5 separate regions of the Homo sapiens genome follow, and regions 2, 3, 4 and 5 are each linked to region 1. The links are contacts of gene promoters, found by promoter capture Hi-C in human tissues and cell types (Jung and others, 2019). All regions are on one chromosome and are shown on one strand. The core of a region is centred on a gene start or on the middle of the fragment in contact, and the rest is flanking DNA. Distances in the headings are between cores, read along the strand shown.

Region 1 (2,700 bases), core at 112-2,611:
TACCGGGGGGCGAGCAAGGTCCAGAATGACAAGCCCTGGCATTCCTCAGCCGCCCCCTCCCTGGGGTGGGGCCTGGACATTCCTGGCTGCAGCTAGAGGTCCCAGCACGACAGGGATTCTGACCCCCCTCCACCACGGCTATTGTTCAGAATTCTGTGGATTCCAGAGGCATCTGCCCAGCAGACTGTCTTGCTGTGAACACCCAGCTCTGCAACCGGTGTTTGCGTGTTTGCCCTGGGAGGCTGAACGCTCACCCAGAACAAAGGCCTCCCCACATGCCTGCTGTGAGCTTCCAAGGACTCGTTTGCACACACGCCAAGGAACCCCGGGGTGGGGTGATACTGAGGAGCTTCCTCCCTGACCCACACACACCCTTTGAACAGGTCTTTGGCCGCTCACCAGTCTGGTCAATCTCGGGGCAGTATTTATATTCCTTCCCATTTCCAGGCCTAGGAGCCTTGGCATCCTGCTCTCGCCTCTAACTGAAATTACCTCTCAACCCTTTTTAGCTAAGATGCCTCTCGCATTCCCTAGGAATAACAAGCTTTAAAGCCCCTTCACACTGAAGCCTGCCTTTGAATTCCCCAGGTAGATTTGGGGGTGGGGGTCTTATGGCTCCCAGCGAACCCCCGGTTCTGTTGATTAAATTGAGCTCAGGCAGATTGCTGGCTTCCCAAAGCCTGTGTTATTACTGCTTCTCAAAGCTACGGGCACCGGATCGCCGTCTTTGGCAAGATTCTTTTGGGATACAATGGGAATTACTGGGTGGCCTCGGTTCGGTTCTTCCCTCGTCCCAGTTCGCGGCTCACCAGCCCCACTGATGCAGCCCCCAGGCTGGAAGGAGGCTGCAGGAGCTTCCCCTCAGGTCATCCTCTCATCCCTCCCCCGTGCCCCAGGAGCTGGTTGTGGGGGCGGTTCCATCCCCTCGGCCCATCCGGGACAGGAGCCTAGGTTCCCTTCGGGGGGTACCCCAAACTCCATCCTTGGCCTCAGGCCAGCCCTGGTGCACTGCCCGCTCCCAGGCTTGACGAGAGGCTGCGGGCCAGTGGGTGAAGGGGCGCGCCCTGACTGCCAGGCCCCGCCCAGGCGCATCCGGGAGGACGGGCTGGGATGACGCGGGCGCCGGGAGGGGGGAGGTCGCGAGGCCGGGGTCTCCATGGCGCAGGAGGACTGGGGCCTTCGAGGACCACGCGGGCCTGGGAATAGCCCGCCAGGCTGGGCCGGACGACGCACGTGCTCCGAGCTGGGCCGAGGGGGCGGGGCTGAGGGACGGGGCCGGGCCACGGGGCGGGGAGGAGCCGCGGACGGTGGGCGGGGCCGGCGGGCCGGGGCCTAAAAGGCGGCGCGGGCGGGGTTCCTGACGCAGCTGCGGGCGGCGGGCGGCGCGCACACTGCTCGCTGGGCCGCGGCTCCCGGGTGTCCCAGGCCCGGCCGGTGCGCAGAGCATGGCGGGTGCGGGCCCGAAGCGGCGCGCGCTAGCGGCGCCGGCGGCCGAGGAGAAGGAAGAGGCGCGGGAGAAGATGCTGGCCGCCAAGAGCGCGGACGGCTCGGCGCCGGCAGGCGAGGGCGAGGGCGTGACCCTGCAGCGGAACATCACGCTGCTCAACGGCGTGGCCATCATCGTGGGGACCATTATCGGCTCGGGCATCTTCGTGACGCCCACGGGCGTGCTCAAGGAGGCAGGCTCGCCGGGGCTGGCGCTGGTGGTGTGGGCCGCGTGCGGCGTCTTCTCCATCGTGGGCGCGCTCTGCTACGCGGAGCTCGGCACCACCATCTCCAAATCGGGCGGCGACTACGCCTACATGCTGGAGGTCTACGGCTCGCTGCCCGCCTTCCTCAAGCTCTGGATCGAGCTGCTCATCATCCGGCCTTCATCGCAGTACATCGTGGCCCTGGTCTTCGCCACCTACCTGCTCAAGCCGCTCTTCCCCACCTGCCCGGTGCCCGAGGAGGCAGCCAAGCTCGTGGCCTGCCTCTGCGTGCGTGAGTACGGGGCGCGGGCCGGGGGTTGGGAGGTCGTAGTCTCTGGGTCCCTGCATCCTTGCATCACTACGCCCCTGGCTCCCACATCTCTACATCTTTACGTTCCTGGACCATCCCGGCAGTTCTAGGCTAAGGTCATTGGTCCCAGAAACCACGTGCGTTTCTTTCATTCATTCTTTTACACTTCTCCCCACAGGCTGGGAATATCTTCAGTGACGGGACAGCAGGGTCCCTGCCCTGCCCTTCGGTGGGCATTCCATTCCCCCACTTAAGCGGTTTAGGCAAGTGCCACCCTCCCGTTGGCCCCGCTGAGCAATACTCCCAGCCTCTTGCGTGGCACCCACGTGGAGTAACTGAGCAATCGGTTTACTGTTAGAGCTCCGATTGCTGACTGGTTGGTGAGAAGGAAATTGCAGTTAAAAAAAAAATCATTCATTTCTGCTCTCCACACCAGCTCGTCAGGAATCAGTGACACGGGCTGACTCATAAGAAAACAGTAGTAATAACATCGTGTGCGGGTAGTGACTGGTGCTGATTTAGGCTAAGGGATCCCCCCTGAGGGTTCCCAGTAGTGAGAGAGCGGAGCTTGGCTGCAGATTCAGTCTGTGTTGCAGTGAATGGACGTGCGGGTCCCAGGTTTCTCTGGGAAACAGCCATGGGGCTCCTGTTTTGGTGGGCATGGTGCTGGTGTGTTCTTCACCAGGCCAGAGATAACTG
Region 2 (2,700 bases), core at 121-2,620, 480 kb after region 1:
AGCCTAGACACTACAGTAAAGAGTTCATTAAGGTGACTAACAAGAAAACTACTAACAAAAAAGGCACGTGTAAGTCTTGCTAACCAACGGACTGCCTCAAGAGGCTGTCTGAAAAGATATGCTTGGCAAGCTAAGGTCCATTTTAATTTGCTTAAGTTTCTCAGGCATAAGAAAAAAAATAATGGTCAATGAGACCTGCAAAACTATATCCAAACTCAAATGAATGCTAAACTCTTTCTAGACTCCGGGAAACTAGGCAAAAGCAGACAAACAGCACCACTGTGTGGGCTCCTGACGAGGATGGCGGCAGGCATTCGCAGTCCACCGCGATGAACACGGTGCTTCCCTTCCAAACCGGTGTCTGGAACTTAGGCAACAACAGATACCTGGATCTGCGGCGTTCTCTTGCTCAAGCGGGAAATAATCACTTCGCATCATCTGCGTGGAGTAAATATTGTGATGGTGACACCTGCACGTTTAACCAAATGCCAGCACACCTAAGCTGGGTTTCCAGTCTGAACCGGCAGAAAAGGGATGTATTCGGTATTCCTGGTGCCAAGGTGAGAACGTAATCGCAAACCCAAGAGAAGTCTCCCACCCCAGCTCCTGGGCTACAGACAGGAACTGGCAACACCGCTGTGGGCCGTCCCGGGCGCGGCGAGGCCGGGGCCCAGCACATTCCCCTCCTCTCGACCGAGGCACTGAGGTCTGTAAGAGGCACTCGCACCCGGGCGGGCTCCCTCGACGGGAAAACCAGCCCTGAAGGTGACGCGCTGGGTCCCGGCGCAGCCCCGCTTCAGAGCCGAACGGCCCAGCGCGGCCCCGGGGGCTGTTGGGCCCCAGAAGCGCGACCCTCGCCCGCAGCGCGCTTGCGGGGGCGGCGGTGGCCGGGGTACGGCAGGCACCCCGCCGCGGAGGGCGCGGGGTGATTCAGCAGGCCCGGGGCCCCGAGCGCACCGGCCCCCGCCCGCCCTCCGCCGGCTGCCTCCTCCCAGGCCTCCGAGAGGTCCGCAGGCCGCCCCGGCCCAGACCAGCCCCTGGCCCTCCCGGCTCGGTCCCGGCCTGGGTCCCTCACGGGGCCCCGGGCCCCGCATCCCTCGGCCCCGCCGGCCGGCAGCCACCGGCCCCGCTCGGCCTCCCGGCTCGGCCCCGACCCCTCACGGCGTCCCAGGCCCTGCCGCCCTCCACAGCTCGGACCCCGGCCCCGCCGCACCCGCCGCCCTCGCGGCGACACTCACCGAAGGTGCGGCGCTGCTTGAAGGTCTTCTCCGACGGCATGGTGCAGGGATCTGGGCGGCGGCGGCGGCGACGACGCGAGGGTCCCGGCGGCTCCCGGGGGCGGCGGCTGCTGCGGCGGCGAATCCGACTCTGGCGATAGCCACTTCCCTTGTATCTCCTCAGCCCGCAGCCTGGTCAGGTGACTCGCGACGCGTCACCGAGGGGCGGGGCCAGAGCCGGCCGGGGCCGCCGCCATGACGGGCGTGGCGGAACCCAGCAGCGGCACGCAGCGTGGGGGCGGAGCAGGTGTGTGCGCGTGCGCGATGGGCGAAACGCGCGCTCTGCGCATGCTCCCGGTCGTGCCCCAGCCCCGCCCAGCACCGCTGGGCGCCTGAGGCCCCTGAGGTGACGGTTGTGGGCTGGGCCGCACCCCGGGTCTGTGGGCGCTCGGGAGCCTGCTGCCCGGCCCTGAGGAGATGGCAGCGCGGGGCGGGGGAGGCTGAGCCACAGGCGGGGTGTCCCGGGGCACTCTTGAGGGAGGGGTCAGAGGAAGGGACATGGGGCAAATCCGACCATCCTTTCCCCTCCAGAGAGACTTGGTGGTGCTGCCCGAGACGCCGGCACCCGGGGCTGAGGCGCGCAGGGCAGGCCGCGCCGTCTCCGGGAGGCAGGGTCGCCGCTCGCCCGTGGAGCCCTGGCCCCCTCTGCGTGCAGGGGCGCGCGTGGTCCGTGGGTGGCTTCCGGGGAGTGGCCGCTGGTGACCTCCGCCCGCGGTCACTCGACGCCCAGCCTTGGCGCGTTTGCGCAACTGCTTTTGTCCCGAGCCTTCATTCTGGGCGCAGTCCCCTCTCCCAGTCCCCCTGCCGCGGCGCCTGGAACTCTCCTGGTGGCTGTAAGATTTTCCTACCGTTAGGTCGTCTGTGGCGACTGCCAGGCCTGCCCCACATCGCTAGCCGCCCTGTCTACCCCTCAGCCTCCCAGCCACTAAACTCGCTGGACAACCTTACGCTAGTGACAGTTTTTGAGTCTCAGACTCATCTGTGAAAGGGCAGTCATATTTGAGGACTCCAAATGGGCTGCAGTGCGTAAACCACCATGCGATATTTGGTTGCTATTGCCCACCTCAGCCTGTGGCCAATGTGTCTCTGTAGGAACAGCACTAGATTCTTTGGGGTTTTTTTGAGACAGGGTCTTGCTCTGTTGCCCAGCCTGGAATGCAGTGGCACGATCATAGCTCGCGGCGGCCTCGGTCGCCTGGGCTCAAGGGATCCTCCTGCCTCAGCCTCCCGAGAAGCTGGGAGTAGAGCCGGGATCTCGCTGTGTTGCCCGGGCTGGTCTTGAACTCCTGGCCTCAAGCAACCCTCCCGCCTCGGCCTCCTTAAGAGTTGGGATTACAGGCGTGAGCCACTGCTCCCGGCTATTTGGCTGTTTTTGTTCTTTAACATCTAATACTTTGAAAGAGCCCCATAGTTCCAGGATTTC
Region 3 (2,700 bases), core at 35-2,534, 300 kb after region 1:
GCACAGCGTGGATAATATGTGGATCCTAATTTTAAGAAATCACATAAAAACATCACTGGGGGCTGGGTGCCATAGTTCACGCAGAGGCGGGAGGATCGCTTGAAGCCAGGAGTTCAAGACAGTAACATAGTGAGACTCCATCTCTACAAAAAAAATTAAGAATTAGCCCAGTGTAGTGGCACGCACCTGTGGTCCCATCTACTTGAGAGGCTGAGGTGGGAGGATTCACTTGAGCCTGGGAGTTTGAGGCTGCAGTGAGCTATGAATGCACCACTGTACTCCAGCCTGTGTGACAGAGTGAGACACTGTCTCAAAATAAAATAAAATAAAAATAAAAAATAGGTCGGGCATGGTGGCTCACACCTGTAATCCCAGCACTTTGGGAGGCCAAGACAGGCGGATCACCTGAGATCAGGAGTTCGACACCAACCTGGCCAACGTGGTGAATCCCTGTCTCTACTAAAAATGCAAAAATCAGCCAGGCATGGTGGCAGGCACCTGTAATCCCAGCTACTCAGGAGGGTGAGGCAGGAGAATCACTTGAACCCTGCGGAGGTTGCAGTGAGCCAAGATCACGCCACTGCACTCCAGCCTGGGCAAGAGAGCGAGACTGTCTCAAAAAAAAAAAAAAAAGACTGAGGACAGGTCTCACACTATGTTCTTACCACAAATAATGGGGACATGGGGAGTGTTCTGGAGGTGCCGGATGTGTTGATTTCCCTGATCATGGTGTTGGTATCACGGCTGTTTGCCGATGTCCAAACTCATCAAATTACGCATTAAATATGTGCAGATTTTTTTTTAAGACAGAGTCTTGCTCTGTTGCCCAGGCTGGAGTGCAGTGGCATGATCTTGGCTCACTGCAACCTCCACTTCCCAGGCTCAAGCAATTCTCATGCCTCAACCTCCTGAGTAGCTGGGATCACAGGTGCGTGCCATCGCGCCTGGCTAATTTTTGTATTTTTTTGTAGATACAGGGTTTCGCTATGTTGGCCAGGCTGTTCTTGAACTCCTGATCTCAAGTGATCCACCCACCTTGGCCTCTCAAAGTGCTGGGATTACAGGCCTGAGTCACTGTAGCTGGCCAGATTTCAATATATTAATTATATCTCAATAAAGCTTTTAAAAAAAAAAGCAGTGGCTGAGCAAAAAAAAAAAATTTAAAGCATTCGTCCATCCCCAAGGGTGCATCTCCCAGCTGGTAGTGTTCAACCCAACAGATCAACCTCCTTCTTTTTTTTTTTTTGAGATGGAGTCTCGCTCTGTCACCCAGGCTGGAGTGCAGTGGCGCTATCTCGGCTCACTGCAAGCTCCGCCTCCCGGGTTCACGACATTCTCCTGCCTCAGCCTCCCAAGTAGCTGGGACTACAGGCGCCCGCCACCACGCCCGGCTAATTTTTTATATTTTTAGTAGAGACGGGGTCAACCTCCTTCTTTACAGCAAATAACTTTACATGTCCATTGCTATCCTGAAATGAAATGCATGGAAACCTACAAAACACCTTCTTCAACTCCACATAATGCCCCAACTGTAATACGCAGCTGATGAGAAAGGAACAAACATAAATATAAAATAATGGGGTTTCCATGCCTCCCCGGGGAAGAGAGAACAGGGCTGTCATCTGCTTGCCACGGTGGCCCACAGTGGGCATGACAGCAAACGGCGGCACCCAGCCCCAGTGCAGCACCTGGAGCACTCACCTACCTTACCCCACTTGGCCACTGGGGATGTGGTTTTCCAAAGTGTGAAAAGCTCTGTTCTGAATCAAAGTTCTGAACACAATGCAATCTCCCCTCCATCGGCAAAATCCTTGCATTCCTGGTAACAGATGGAGTAAAACTGTGCAGTGCATGTTTGTGTGTACAATGAAGTTTGGTCCTAGATACACATGGTTCTGGACAGCTTTCTCACCTGAGTGAACATCCTAGAGGCAGGACCTGGCTGAAGGTCAGGGGGCAGGTGCGCCAGAGACTGCAGAGAACCAGGTGGGCCAGCTTCTCAGGGGCATCTTCCTGGGGAGGGGAGTGTGGGTGGGAACCAGAAGCGTTGGGCAGACCCCAGCCCAGGCAGCAGGGCCATGCCAGGGGGCTACACCTGTAACAGGAGCGAGGGCAGAGCTCTGGAACAGGACTTCGGGTTAAGTCCCAGCTCCAGCACCTGCACCTGTGGGACCTCAGAGAGACACTCAGCCTCTCTGAGCTTGTTTCCTTATTCGAAAAGCATAGCTTCCAAGAATCTCATTTCCAGGCCTCCCTGTGAAGTTTGCATGTGCTCTTGCCTGTGCCTTACTTACAGGCCGTGCGCTGTCCATGAGCCCCAGTGGGGTTGTGGTTATTGCTCGTAGGAGGCCGTGGGCAAGGCCAGAAGCCTGGAGGCCCTGTGAGGATCACGGCCTCATGAATCAGGTAGGAAGCTGCTGGAGAGAGAGATCTCAGAGTGTAAGGTGCACAAATATAGAACTGAAGGCATCGGCCGGGTGCGGTGGCTCACGCTTATAATCCCAACACTTTGGGAGGCTGAGGCAGGCGGATCACTTGAGGTTAGGAGTTCAAAACCAGACTGGCCAACATGGTGAAACCCCCGTCTCTACTAAAAATACAAAAATTAGCCAGGCGTGGTGGCAGGCGCCTGTAATCCCAGCTACTCGAGAGGCTGAGGCAGGAGAATTGCTTGAACCCGGAAGGCGGAGGCTGCAGGGA
Region 4 (2,700 bases), core at 53-2,552, 460 kb after region 1:
GCGCTCACCTGCCCTCACCCAGTGAAAGGACGCATGTTAGAGCAGCCCGCCTGACGTGTGCAGAGCCTGACTCCCAGAGGAAGCTCCCAAAGAAAAAGATGGTGAACTTTTCCTGAGTCATTTCACCCCGGTCAGATTTGATAAACTTGTAAAATTAGGTCCCATTTTGCAGGGGCAGGAAGGGAGTAGAAACGGTCAGGATGGGTGGCCTAGATTTCCAGCACCAGAATCTTGCCCAGTGGCTCTGGACATGACTGGACAGATTGGTGGTTGGTGGTGATTCTACAGTCATTCAAATTTGACCTCTTTTTTCCCCTCTCTCTAGGTACTTTTAGGTTGAAATACGCCCCTCCAGCAGAAAGTCTGGACTCCACAGATTGATATTTTTCTCTGGCAACAGAACGTTATTAAGCCATGGAGACATAAGGAAAATTAAATACAAAACTGAGAAGTCTAGTTGCTGTTGAGCTTAATCTTTTTAATCCAAAGGTGCTTTACTTTTCCTAGACTGGATAGAAAATCTAGCGTAGAAGTGCATCAAACTCGATTTATTGCCAAAACCCTAGATTGGAGCTTGGTGTCAGAACTCGCCTAGTGGGCATCTCTGTGGCTGGTGAGATCGGCCACCTCCACTTTTGGTTGCAGTGCAGAGACGCCATGTCTCCCGAAGAGCATTGCCATCACTGGCCCTCCTAGGCTCACACGTCAATTCCAGGGCAGCTACACGTGGTCTGAATCGAGAACCGAGCTTGGAGTTCTCCAAGTGGAGTTCCACCCGCCGGACTCCTGACACCCCTGGGCTAGGGAAAATGTCGACTTTGTTTTGTTCTGTTCCTAAAGTGATTAGCACTAATCTCTGGGATTTTTAAGGATTGCACTACAGAAGAATGTACCCTGATGTAAATCTCTGCGGTTCTGGGAGCCAAACTCCTCTGAGAACAGTCAGTGCAAGAGACTCCAATAATCCATATTGAAAGAGTCAGCACCAGCAGAGGCTACTCGACTTAGGACGCAACAGAGGTTTTAGTATTTCCTTCCCTCCTCCAAGCACTTGTAGCAGTTTCAGGTTTTTAATTTTTTTCTGCAAATAAATCTAAACTACGTTATTAAATAGAAATAGTTTACTCGCAACAACTTAATTTCTAAGGGTCCAAGTCCCAGAGAATCCATAGTCGTCAAAGCTTTGAGAGTATCTTTCTTCCCAGCCAGTCAGTGGCTTTGAGCCCTATCTTCCACTACAAATGACCTCTCGAGGGGGGACGGCGACAGCGCGGCTCTGTGAGTGGCTGTGAGGATGCTGCACGTCCTCAGCAGAGTTTGCAAGTTGCTTTATCTCCCACGGGCTCCCCAAGAACCTCCAACCCCGAGGCTTATCGCTAGCGGATTCACACCTGAGACAGACATTTCAACAATGATACAGTCCTGTCATTTATCAGCAAAAGATTGGGAATTTTCTCCTGTCAACTTCTTTTGTATTAGGCTGTGTATTGATAGTTAATTCCGTTAAAAATTACTTGGAAAACAGTGGGAAGTGGTAGGACTCTGGAAGAGGCCACACACCCGAGAGCTGCGAGATCTGTGCAAGTCTGGTTTTGGTTAGGTAGTAATAAAAGTCCTCACTGTAGATCTCTAAATTTCAACCCACGGAAATGAAAGCCTTTTGTCTGAAATTTACGGACTTAAATCTTCAAGGTTAAAGGGAATTTTCTGCTCAAATAATACTCTTATCGAAAATGCTAAAGTCTTCAATGTTAAAATACTGATTGGTAAAATCTTGCAGTTGGGATTTTGCAGTTGGATATTTATTTTAAAAAAAATTATAATATTCAGACTATTCTTAAAATGGGACAATCAGCCTCATGAAAAATTGATGTAAATCAGAAGAATACCCTAGAATGAGGCCTTGTGATGTGAGCGTTCAATTTGAAGAGCAGTTCCTAACTTCATAGAAACTAAAGCAGAAAGTTGTTACATTTTTTTTATGACAGGCTTTTAGTAGAATTTTTTAGTTTTATTTTAGTTGAATTTTATTTCTATGCAATGCAGAATTAACAGACCTCTTCTCCTCATGGTACACAGTATTACAGTGTTGAAGTAATGGTGATGCTTATTACAACAGCTATTTAGGGGAATGTTACGTTGATCTCTTAAATTGTAAACACTACAAAATGTCAAAATAATGAGAACTGACACAACTTTGCCTTAAAGAGTACTAGACTGGACCTTCTCATATTACGTTTAAGGAAGACTTAGAGTGTTCATTGATGTTTACGATTTTAATATTTCTGAAGGCCATTACAGTGGCCTGGATATGTGCTGAAAGCCAAACTTTTAAATTTTTTGGTTTTTTTAAGCAAAGAAATATTTTAAATAAATCCTATTTCAACACTGAAATTGTTGAAAACCGTCTCATAACAAAAGGAAAAAACATTGGAATTTTTGTTTTAGTGGTCAGTATAGGGGAATGAAAGCGTCTGTTGTTACCCACGTAACTATTTTGATAAGTATTAGAGGTTAACCTTAAATCCAGCAAAACATTAAAACAGAAACTTTTCAACTTGGAGCCTGCCATTCAGCGTTGAGGTAGATGAGTTCCGACACTGTCACGGCTGTGTTCCCAGCAGCGAAGGCCTCTGCGGAGCTGCCAGTCGTCTTGAACGTGCATGGGCGGCGTGTGACATCTCCAGGGAGGCCGTCCGA
Region 5 (2,700 bases), core at 107-2,606, 330 kb after region 1:
CTGGTGGGGTGACAACAGGATCTGAGTGTTTGGACTCCATTCTCTCTGCTTCCTCTGTCCACGTTTTAGGGATGCCCTATTCAATGAGCCCTCTCTCTCTCTTCCTTTTTTTTTTTTTCTTTTTCTAGCAGTGTTTCCAGGGAAGGGCTCATATTCCCCACACTAGGGGCTGAGAGGGTGGATGCTTCTGGGTAAATCATTTGAAAATCAAGCAGATCCAACACCTTTGCTGTCTCTGATTAGAGTGAGCTCGCTGGGAGGGGCCCCCAAAGGGCCCCTGAATGGCTACGTGCTGCATGGCGTTAGGAGTGAGGGGCATGACCCTGACACCGGGAGGGCAGGCGTGTGAGCAAGTGCAGCCTACGGGGAGGCAATTTAACCACAGCCCCGGCACTGACAACGGCAAATCCTCTTGCGCAGCAGTTCTCCTCCGAGGATTCTTCCTGAGTGAGGCACTGGCATAGGGGCACAAAGGCATATATGTGCCAAAGGCATGACCCACGCCATGCGTTGATTACAGCAGAGACTGAGAGCAGCCTCATGCCTGTTGGTGGAGAGGAGTGGAGAAGGACAGCCTACTCCCCATGCACTGAGAGCTCTTGTGCAGTCAGCAAAAAGCGTGGTGGCTCCATCCATGTGGACACAGAACAGCTTTCAAGAGAAATAAGAAGGGCTGGAAGTGGCAGCTCACGCCTGTAATTCCAGCACTTTGGGAGGCTGAGGCGGGCAGATCACCTGAGGTCAGGAGTTAGAGACAAGCCCAGCCAACGTGACAAAACCCTGTCTCTACTAAAAATACAAAAATTAGCTGGGTGTGGTGATGGGCACCTGTAATCCCAGCTACTTGGGTGGCTGAGACACGAGAATTGCTTGAACCCGGGAGGTGGAGGTTTGCAGTGAGCCGAGCTTGTGCCACTGCACTCCAGCCTGGAAGGCAGAACAAGACTCTGTCTCAAAAACAAAAAAAAAAAAAAGAGACAGAGAGAGAAATAAGAAGAACCAGAGGCACCCAGCGCATGGGCTGCTACTGTCTGTGTAGGAGGCCGAGTAATGTATCACACATGCACACCTAAGTGTGCATACACATATGTGTGCACGAGCACATATGCACACACATAGCTAGAAAAAGGGGCTCTGGGACCCTGAAGATTTGGGGTGGAAGGAAGCTTACTTTTCAGGACATCCTTTCCTGTACTGTTTGGTTGTGGTTGTTTAACCATTTGTGTATGTTAATTTTTCAATTAAAAATAGTTGAGCAAGGTGTGGTAGCATGCACCTGTCATCCTAGCTACTCAAGAAGCTGAGGTGGGAGGACTGCTTGAGCCCAGGGGCTTGGGTCTAGCCTGGGCAACATAGCCAGACCCCATCTCCAAAAAGAGTTTTAAAAATAGGTGAGTGGAAGTTTGGAGAAGAAGGAAGGAAGAGGAAAGGAGGCAGGAGGAAGAGAGAGAAAGGTGTACCCCGCACCGCGGAGGCAGCAGGTCCTCACCTGAATCTGTCTCCCCGTTTCCCAGCTGCGTGGCTGTGGACAAGTCACTCGGCCTCCCTGCGACACCACTTTCCTGCCTGTGAAATGGACTCACGGATAAACCAATCTCACCAAGTTGTTGCCAGGATCAAATAAGTCAAAAATGAGAAAGGATTTAGGAAACTGCAACGGGCATTTTCCCTTGAAAATGGCCCCTGGCTCTTGCACACGCACGTGTGCCAAACAGCTCAGATAATGATTTTCATTTATTCTAATCCTCAGGCTGCCTGAGCTGGGCTTCAGGGGTACGCTGTGGGAAGATCTGAGCACACAGGCCCCGCCGGGGTTCAGATCTGGAGACCCAGCAAGGGCTAATAAAACACAAACTAAATATTCCTCTGGCCTCCCCCACGGAGTGTTTTTCTCTGATTCCGGATCGGCCCTTGGGCTGTTAGAAAACATCTTCTGGGGACAAAGGGCAAGCGGTGAATTTGTGTCCCCTACAGAGAGGAGGGCTGGAGTTGTGGTTCTCTAAGAAGCCACGTGAACCAGAAGCAGCTCTCAGGGGCGGCGGCGTCTGCCCTCAGCCACGCTGGAGTCCACCCCAACTGGCAAGTGGAGAAAAGGAAGGAAAAAATGAGTCAAAAGGAATGGGAAACTGTGTTGCTCACATTTATGAAATGAATGTAGGTCTCCAACATATGCTCTGGCCTGGAGCATTGCTGTCTCTGCGTTAGTAGCTGGGCATGGCTGTGTTGACAGTGGCGGAGGAGAACTCACAGCAGTGGTGAACGTCAAATGTCAAATGTCATTAGAAACCAAGAAGGGGGCAGATTTAAAAAGAAAAAAAGCAGGGAATGCATTCCACCTTTAAACAGAAGGCTTGGGCAGGGTATGAAGCTCGAATCTCATACTTCAAAATGTTTTTGCATCTTGAGGAAACCGTACAGGAACTTGACTGTGAGGAGCTATAGGGCTGCCTGGTCATTTGGATGTGGCCATGTTCACATAAACACTCAGTGCTCGTCAGCTGGAGTTTTGGATTCAGGGAGATGGAAACAATTTAGACTTGGGGGTGTTTGAGGTCAGCGGTTATAAGTGAGTCTCAGGGTTTTTCCCACAGTTGATGAAAACAGTTTCTTTGACATCAAAAATACATATCTATTTTGAAACAGGGTCTTGCTCTGTCCCCCAGGCTGGAGTGCAGAGGTGCAATCATTACTTACTGGCAT

Evidence for each region. Contacts are between HindIII fragments. The study calls those that stand out against the background at their distance.
Region 2: the fragment with the promoter of MAP1LC3B here is called in contact with the fragment with the promoter of SLC7A5 in region 1 in 2 of the 25 tissues and cell types used here (lymphoblastoid cells and small bowel).
Region 3: a fragment that was not itself captured here is called in contact with the fragment with the promoter of SLC7A5 in region 1 in 1 of the 25 tissues and cell types used here (dorsolateral prefrontal cortex).
Region 4: a contact is called between a fragment that was not itself captured here and the fragment with the promoter of SLC7A5 in region 1, in 1 of the 25 tissues and cell types used here (dorsolateral prefrontal cortex).
Region 5: a fragment that was not itself captured here is called in contact with the fragment with the promoter of SLC7A5 in region 1 in 1 of the 25 tissues and cell types used here (dorsolateral prefrontal cortex).

The regions. Positions count from the first base shown.
Region 1 is chr16:87,868,168-87,870,867 of GRCh38, reverse strand. SLC7A5 (solute carrier family 7 member 5) reads left to right here and starts at 1,361. Exons shown (of 10, transcript NM_003486.7): 1 at 1,361-1,983. The coding sequence starts at 1,446. RefSeq lists enhancers at 1-47, 1-603, 48-807 and a silencer at 1,048-1,397. The HindIII fragment of the contact is 6,482 bases long and covers 1-2,700 here.
Region 2 is chr16:87,391,006-87,393,705 of GRCh38, reverse strand. MAP1LC3B (microtubule associated protein 1 light chain 3 beta) reads right to left here and starts at 1,370. Exons shown (of 4, transcript NM_022818.5): 1 at 1,239-1,370. The coding sequence starts at 1,278. It also overlaps a transcript of FBXO31 not described here. RefSeq lists enhancers at 188-237, 1,454-2,412 and silencers at 858-987, 1,098-1,267, 1,288-1,937. The HindIII fragment of the contact is 8,903 bases long and covers 1-2,700 here.
Region 3 is chr16:87,572,159-87,574,858 of GRCh38, reverse strand. No RefSeq gene overlaps it. Among named protein-coding and RNA genes, the nearest start is that of JPH3, 29 kb to the left of the region's middle. RefSeq lists an enhancer at 2,524-2,700. The HindIII fragment of the contact is 3,496 bases long and covers 1-2,700 here.
Region 4 is chr16:87,407,961-87,410,660 of GRCh38, reverse strand. It overlaps ZCCHC14 (zinc finger CCHC-type containing 14), which reads left to right. Exons shown (of 13, transcript NM_015144.3): 13 at 326-2,700. The coding sequence ends at 381. Among named protein-coding and RNA genes, the nearest start is that of MAP1LC3B, 17 kb to the right of the region's middle. RefSeq lists enhancers at 2,520-2,700, 2,280-2,700. The HindIII fragment of the contact is 7,604 bases long and covers 1-2,700 here.
Region 5 is chr16:87,538,141-87,540,840 of GRCh38, reverse strand. LOC124903748 (a long non-coding RNA gene) reads right to left here and starts at 1,939. Exons shown (of 2, transcript XR_007065170.1): 1 at 1,490-1,939. RefSeq lists a silencer at 621-852. The HindIII fragment of the contact is 3,179 bases long and covers 1-2,700 here.